3 separate regions of the Homo sapiens genome follow, and all the other regions are linked to region 2. The links are contacts of gene promoters, found by promoter capture Hi-C in blood cells and fetal thymus (Javierre and others, 2016). All regions are on one chromosome and are shown on one strand. Each heading gives the region's core, a stretch centred on a gene start or on the middle of the fragment in contact. The rest is flanking DNA. Distances are from core to core; before and after follow the strand shown. Region 1 overlaps SPRY3 (sprouty RTK signaling antagonist 3). Region 2 holds the start of RAB39B (RAB39B, member RAS oncogene family). Region 3 overlaps SPRY3 (sprouty RTK signaling antagonist 3).

The links. Contacts are between HindIII fragments. The CHiCAGO score rates a contact against its expected background, and 5 or more counts as called.
Region 1: a fragment that was not itself captured here is called in contact with the fragment with the promoter of RAB39B in region 2 in 1 of 17 cell types (erythroblasts); the score reaches 5.6 in erythroblasts.
Region 3: a fragment that was not itself captured here is called in contact with the fragment with the promoter of RAB39B in region 2 in 1 of 17 cell types (neutrophils); the score reaches 5.7 in neutrophils.

The regions. Positions count from the first base shown.
Region 1 is chrX:155,652,585-155,655,437 of GRCh38, forward strand. The region is part of intron 1 of SPRY3 (sprouty RTK signaling antagonist 3); the gene reads left to right. Among named protein-coding and RNA genes, the nearest start is that of TMLHE, 41 kb to the left of the region's middle. The HindIII fragment of the contact is 2,567 bases long and covers 199-2,765 here.
Region 2 is chrX:155,263,203-155,265,902 of GRCh38, forward strand. It overlaps RAB39B (RAB39B, member RAS oncogene family), which reads right to left and starts at 1,289. Exons shown (of 2, transcript NM_171998.4): 1 at 872-1,289. The coding sequence starts at 1,086. RefSeq lists silencers at 1,067-1,276, 1,287-1,336. The HindIII fragment of the contact is 10,241 bases long and covers 1-2,700 here.
Region 3 is chrX:155,626,036-155,628,735 of GRCh38, forward strand. All of the region lies in intron 1 of SPRY3 (sprouty RTK signaling antagonist 3), which reads left to right. Among named protein-coding and RNA genes, the nearest start is that of TMLHE, 14 kb to the left of the region's middle. The HindIII fragment of the contact is 6,921 bases long and covers 1-2,700 here.

The DNA.
Region 1 (2,853 bases), core at 232-2,731, 390 kb after region 2:
ATTGTGTGTATATATACCACATTTCATTTATACATTTATCTATTAAGGGACACTCGGGTTGTTACCACTGTTGGGCTACTGTGAATAGTGTTTCTATGAACATTTGTGAGCATATTTTTGGTTGGATATTTGTTTTTGAGTCTCTTGAGTAAATATCTTGGAGTGGAATTGCTGGATGATATAGTAACTTTATGTGTAAGCTTTTGAGTAACTTCCAGAATGTTTTTTGCCATGATTGCACAATTTTAAATTCTCGTTGATGGTTCAGTTTATCTACATTCTCACCAACATTTGTTATTTTCTGCCATTATTGTTATTATTAGCATCCTAATGGGTGTGAAGTGATATCTAATTGTTGTTTTGATTTGCATTTCCCCAGTGATTAATATTGAGCCTCTTTTCATGTGCTTACTGGCCATTTGCATATCTCCTTTAGAGAAATGTCTATTCAAGTCATTTGCTCATTTTTAAATTGGGTTGCTTTTCTCATTATTATTGAGTTGTAGGAGTTACTCATATATTCTGAACACTAGATCCTTATCTAGTTATCAGATATATGGACCCTTATCTAGTTATCAGATATATGATTTGCAAATATGTTCTCTCATTCTGTCTTTTCACCTCTTAATAATGTCTTTTGATGCACTAAGGTTTTGAATTTTGATGAAGTCCATTTTATGGTTTTTAAAATTTTGTTACTTGTGCTTTTGGTGCCATATCTAAGAAACCATTGCCTGATTCAACATCATGATTTATTCCCAAGTTTTCTTCTAATATTGGTACAGTTTTAGCTCTTATATTTAGGTCTTTGAACTATTTTGAGTTAATTTTTATACATAATGTTAGGTAAAGGTCCAACTTCATTCTTTTGCATGTGGATATCCAGTTTTCCCAGAACCATTTGTTGAAGAGACTGTTCTTTCCCCATTGTATGGTCTTGGCATCCTGGTTGAAAATCAATTATACATAGATGTTTGGGTTTATTTCTGGATTCTCAATTCCATTTCAGTGATTTATAGATGCCATTGTCTATCCTTATGCTAGTGCCACATTGTTTGGATTACTGTAGTGTTATAATAAGTTTTGAAATTGGAAAGTGTGAGTCTTCCAACTTTTTATTTTGTTTTCTAAATTGATTTGGCTACTTGGACTCATTGCAATTCCATATGAATTTTAGTATTGTCATTTCCATATCTATAGAAAAGGTTATTGGGACTTTACATATAATAGGAAAACCAACTGTTTTTCCTACTCTCATGCTTAGCACAGACCACTTCTGGTCACCAAATTACATATGGGGATTTCTCCACACCAACAATCTATTCTCCTGTGGACACCCACTTGGTGTCCTATAATTAAATTAAATTATGACACCATCTGCCTGGAAACAATGTCAGATCCCACAGGTTAAGGGCTCAACCCTGCAATACTGTGTATATTCAGATGCCAGTTATAAGTAGTAGCTTGTCACCTATACTTCTGACAACTAGCTATAAATCAGGATTCCTTTGACCTTTCCCTCAGTTTAGATTAATTTGCTAATATGGCTCATAAAACTGAGTCTATATATTTAAAGTGGGTTTGTTGTAGACAACATGTAGTTGGATTTTATTAAAAACCTACATTGGCAATCTTTTTTTGAATTGGTGCATTTAGATCATTTATATTTAAAGTGGTTATTGATTTTTAAAATGTATATCTACCATATTTGGTAACTATTTTCTGTTGCTTTTTACATTTTTAAAATTTTTATAGATTTAGGAGATAGAAGTGCCATATTTTTGTTATGTGGATATATTACATAATGATAAAGTCTGGATTTTTGGTTTACTCATCACCTGAATAGTGGCTCTTATATCCTTAGGTAATTTTTCAACCCTCACCCCCTCCTACTATCCCACCTTTTAGAATCTCCAGTGTCTACTATTTCACTCTGTATGTCCATGTGTACTCATTTTTACTTCCCACTTACAAGTGAGAACATGCAGTTTTCAACTTTCTGTTTCTGAGCTACTTCACTTAGGATAATGACCTCCAGTTCCATCCATGCAACTGCAAAAGACATGATTTCATTCTTTCTTATGGCTGCATAGTATTCCATGGTGTGTGTGTGTGTGTGTGTGTGTGTGTGTGTGTGTGTGTGTGTGTGTATAATATAAAATCTTCTTTATCTAATCATCTGTTTATGCACACTTAGGTTGATTCCATGACTTTGCTATTGTGAATAGTGCTGCAATAAACATATAAGTGCAAGTATCCTTTTAATTAATGATTTCTTTTCCATTGGGTAGATACTCAATAGTGAGATTGCTAGATTGAATGGTAGTTCTATTTTTCGTTCTTTGAGAATCCCCACACTGTTTTCTGTAGAGGTTGTATTAATTTACATTTCCATCAACAATGTATAAGCATACCCTTTCCTCTAAATCCTTGCCAACATCTGTTGTTTTTTTGACTTTTTAGTAATAGCCATTCTGACTGGTATACAATGATATCTCATTGGGGTTTTAATTTGCATTTCTCTGATGATTAGTGATGTTGAGCATGATTTCATATATTTGTTGGCTGTACGTCTTCTTTTGAAAAATGTCTGTTGTGTCCTTTGGCCATTTTTAATGGGGTTATTTGGGATTTTTTTCTTGTTGAGTTGTTTGAGTTTCTTGTAGATTCTGGATATTAGCCTTTTGTTAGATGCATAGTTTGAAAATATTTTCTTCCATTCTATAGGTTTTCTGTTTACTCTGCTGATTCTTTTGCTGTGCAGAAGCTTTTTAGTTTCATTCCCATTTGTCTATTTTTTGTTTTGTTTCATTTGATTTTGGGGACTTAGTCATAAATTCTTTGTCTATGCCA
Region 2 (2,700 bases), core at 39-2,538:
ATACTCATCCGGTCTCATCTTCTCCAGTTAACCTTTCCTCCTCTGTGTTCATACATATAATTACAAATAATACATGCTACAATAGAAAAGCAAAGGGTTCTGAGTGAAAGTAAACATATTCATTGATTATTCAATGAATTCATTGATTGAAATTAAGCATGTTCATTTTGTGCCAAGTGTTACAGTAGGGAGTGGGCATACAAATATGAGCAAGACACACTTTCGTAATTGCTGATTATCTATTTCCCTCAACTATGTTAGCACAGAAGTTCCAAGAATGAAGGGGCTTTGTCTGTTTAGATTACATGGCATCCCCTTGTGTGAGTCTCCTCACACTGTTTTCCCAGGAACAAGCCCAGAGTCTGGCACATAGTAGATGATCACTGAATGTGTGCTGGTTGCAAGAAGGAATCAATCGTATCTATTTCATGTTAGAACATATGTTAGCATATATATGTGCACACACACAGATGTGGAAATAAAACATAATACACATGTATTTATGTATTTAAATCTCTGTCAGTTATGTTAGGATGACCTGGGAACGTTTTTGAAAGTATGTAACATAGGGACTGAGATTGATGAATTACAGATACAGAGATCAATTCCAGCTAGTTTGTTAGCCACCAAAGGGCAGGTTGGTGGAGTTGTGGTGCAAGCAATATGTGTTATTGACCGGCCTTCCCTGCCAGGGCGCTTCTTTCCTTGCACTAAACTCCGGGTTAGCCGAAGGTGGGCTTCGGCAGAATCCTCAAGACCCTTGGTGTTGCCCTCCTGGACCGCACCTAGAACCAGGAAGTCCTCTCTCCCCAGAGGCGGTGCAAACCCCGAAGACCCTCCCACTGCTTGCGGGCCCGGACTGCGCTCCCACCTGAACCTCTCTTGACCCGCGGTATCCCAGATCTGGAGCTTGATGCGTTTTCCTGGCTCGATCTCCACCAAGCGGGAGAAAAAATCCACCCCCACGGTGGGGTCAGAAACCTGGGCAAAGCGACCCTCGGTGAAGCGGCGGATCAGGCAGGACTTGCCCACTGTGGAATCCCCGATGACAATGAGCCGGAACTGGTACAGCCAGATGGCCTCCATGGCCGCGGCTCTGCAGGTCTCCTTGGCCCGGACCGGGGACGGCGGGAGGGGGCGCCCCGCCGACGCCTCAGAGAGCGCGGCTCGGCAGGATCTAGCTCAGCCGCGAGCGCATCGCTGGCCTGGGAGCCCGAAGCTGGGTAGGCCCAGGCGCCGGGAGAGCGGAGGGATGGATGCTGCGCTCGCAAAGGTGATGAAATGGCAGCAGCATCAGCACCACGCACTCTGACTCATCACTGACAACCGGGTTACTGTAATCCCCCGCGTAGACGCGACGCCTGGGCCGCCGCACTATCTGTAAGAGGAGCGCACACAAAATGGCTGCAACATTAGCGCGATCCCTCCCTTTCTAACTACCCCACCCACCCTCTGTTCATTAAAACTGTTCTCTGTCGTTCAAACTGCCAATGTCATACCTTTTCATTGAAACTAGCAAAGCAATACAAAACTGCACAAAAAAGGGAAGGCACATAATTATATATTAGTCTACAAGTGTTTCCATGCTCACATAAACACACAAATATTATATGTGTTTGTATTCCTATATGCATTTATTGCTGTTTGTTTTTACAAAAATTAAACTGGGGCCTTACTTTCAATTAATAATTGCTTTTTGCAATTAATAAAGCAACATAAATATCTTTCCATTTCCACCTAATTTCCCTTTTGTCATAACTTATTTTAAAGTGTAGCCACAAGTATTTTATTTCTGTGAGCTACAGTCTTAAAAAAGGGGCCATGAATTCAAAGAGTATAAGTATTTTAAATTTAACGGACATGGGCATTCTACTTTCCAAAACTATTTAACAGTTTAAATTCTACCCAGCAATGTGTGAAAAGACCATCGCTCTGCATTATTTCAAGCATCATATGTATGTTTTATTCTTTCTTAATTCTTCTCAATAGAATTTAGTTAAATAAAAATATGTCTCATTGCTTTATTTTTACATTTCTCTGACTACTGATGAGGTCAATACCAAGTCTTGTGTATTGACCATTTCATTTCCTCTTCTGGGAATTGTCTCTTCATATCCTTTGTATTTTTTATGTGTAATTTTATTTTATTTTTTTTTTGAGACAGAGTCTCTCTCTGTCGCCCAGGCTGGAGTGCAGTGGCGCGATCTCGGCCCACTGCAACCTCTACCTCCCGGGTTCATGCCATTCTCCTGCCTCAGCCTCCCGAGTAGGTGGGACTACAGGTGCCCGCCACCACGCCCGGCTAATTTTTTGTATTTTTAGTAGAGATAAGGTTACACTGTATTAGCCAGGATGGTCTCGATCTCCTGACCTTGTGATCTGCCCGCCTCGGCCTCCCAAAGTGCTGGGATTACAGGCGTGAGCCACCGCGCCCGGCCTTCTATGTGTAATCTTTTATCGTTGCCTTACTCTTTAAAAAAAATCAGCTTCATTAACATGAAAATTCACATACTGTACAATTCACCCATTTAAAGTGAACAATTCTTAGCATAGGTTTTTAATATACTCACAGATATATACAACTATCACCACAGTTAATTTTATAACATTTTTATCACTTCAAAAAGTAACCCAGAGGGGTGGGGGGAGGGGGGAGGGATAGCATTAGGAGGGATTACATTTACCTAATGTAAATGTAAA
Region 3 (2,700 bases), core at 56-2,555, 360 kb after region 2:
GTGTAAATACATTCTCATTTTTCTAGGGATGGAATTGCTGGATTATATGGTAATTCTATGTTTAACCAATTGAGGAACTGCCACACTATTTTCCACAATGGCTACACAATTTTACATTCTTACTGGCAACGTATGAGGTCTCCAATTTATCCACATCCTCTCCAACACTCATTTTAGTTGATTTCCTTATTATTATTGTAACTATCCTAGAGGAGGTGAAGTGGTATCACATTATAGTTTAGATTTTTATTTCTCTAGGGACTAATGATGTTGAGCTTCTTTTTATTTGCTTATTGTTCATTTGAATATGTTATTTGGAGGAATACCTATGCAAATCCTTAGCCCAGTTTTAAATTGGCTTATTTTTCATTTTATTGTTGAGTTGTAAGAGCATTTTACATATTCTAGATACAAGATCTTGTCAGATATATGATTTGCAAAATTTTTTCCCATCTGTGAGTAGTCTTTTCACTGTCCTGATGGTGTCTTTTGAAGCATACTAGTTTTTAATTTTGATGTTGTTGAATTTATCTATTTTCGCCTTTTGTTGCTTGTACTTTTGGTGTTATATCTAAGAAACTACTACCCAAACTATAGTCATAAGGAGTTACATCTATGTTTCTTCTAAGAGTTTTATATTTTAGCTCTTACATTTATATCTTTGATACATTTTTAGTTAATTTTTATATATGATGAGATGTAAGGGTTCAACTTCATTCTTTTATACTGTCGGCATGTTTTCAGTGTCCTGTTTTTTTAGCCAAAAATTACCACGTAAGTAAGTGTTCCCTCAGTTCAATTATCTCAACTCAATATGACCTGAGAAAGCATTAGAATTTGATAGGGAGCAGAGGTTTCAAATCATTCTACCCCAAAGCTCCTTCATCTGAAGCCAGAGCTGGTATATCTTTCTTTTGTTAAAATGACAGATAAAATTATATGTATTTATTGTGTATAGTATGATGTTTTGAAGGATATATACATTGTGGAATGGTAAAATCTACATAATTAACAAAAGTGCATTATCACACATAGTTATCATATTCGTAGTGAGAATGCAACATCCAATCTCTTAGCTATTTTTCAAGAATACAACATATTGTTATTAACTATAGTCACCATACTGTACGATAGAACTTATTCCTCCTATTTAACTGTAATTTTCTATTCTTTAACCAACATCTCTCCACCTGCCCCCTGTAACCAACCACCCTGCCCTCTAGGTAGCCACCATTCTATTCTACTTTAATGAGATTAACTTGTGGATTTCACACGCATGAGATCATGCAGTATTTGTCTTTCTGTGCCTGGCTTATTTCACCTAACATAATGTCCTCCAGGTTCATCCATGCTGTGACAAATAACATGATTTCCTTTTTTATGGCTAAATAATATTCCAAAGTGGTACTGGAATAATATTTCAAGTGGTATATATGCCACTTTTTAAATCCATGCACTCATTGATGGACACTTAGTTTTATTCCATATCTTGGCTATTGTGAATAGTGCTGCGATAAACATGGGTATGCAGATATCTCTTTGACATACTGATTACATTTTCTTTGGATATATACCCAATAGTGGGATTGCTGGATCATAAGCTAGTTCTTTTTTAATTTTTTTAATTTAATTTAATTTTAAGTTCTGAGATACATGTGCAGAACGTGCAGGTTTGTTACATAGGTAAATGTGTGCCATGGTGGTTTGCTGCACCTATCAACCCATCATCTAGGTATTAAGCCCCACATGTATTATCTATTTATCCTGATGCTCTCCCTCCCACCCCCCAACAGGCCCGTTATGTATTGTTCCCTTCCCTGTGTCCATGTGTTCTCATTGTTCAGCTCCCACCGTGATTGAGAACATGCAGTGTTTGATTTTCTGTTCCTGTGTTAGTTTGCTGAAGATGATGACTTCCAGCTTCATCCATGTCCCTGCAAAGGACATGATCTCATTCCTTTTTATGGCTGCATAGTATTCCATGGTGTATATGTACCACATTTTCTTTATACGGTCTATCATTGATGGGCATTTGGGTTGATTCTATGTGTTTGCTATTGTGAATAGTGCTGCACTGAACATACACGTACACGTATCTTTATAACAGAATGATTTGTATTCCTTTGAGTATATACCCAGTAATGGGATTATTGGGTCAAATGGTATTTCTGGTTCTAGCTCCTTGAGGAATTGCCACACCGTCTCCCACAATGGTTGAACTAATTTACATTCCCGCCAACAGTGTAAAAGTGTTCCTATTTCTCCAAGCAATTGCAACAAAGGCAAAAATTAACAAGTGGGGTCTAATTAAACTAAAGAGCTTCTGCACAGGAAAAGAAACTATCATCAGAGCGAACAGGCAACCTAAGAATGTGAGAAAACTTTTGCAATCTACCCATCTGACAAAGGTCTAATATCCAGAATTTACAAGGAACTTAAACAAATTTACAAGAAAAAAATAAAAAAGTGGTCAAAGGACATGAACAGACACTTCTCAAAAGGAGATATTTACGTGGCCAACAAACATATGAAAAAAATCTCAACATCACTGATCATTAGAGAAATGCAAATCAAAACCACAATGAAATACCATCCCACACCAGTCAGAATGGTGATTATTAAAGGGTCAAGAAACAACAGATGCTGGCAAGGCTTTTTTAAATTTTTTGAGGAACCTCTGTATTATTTTCCATAGTTAGT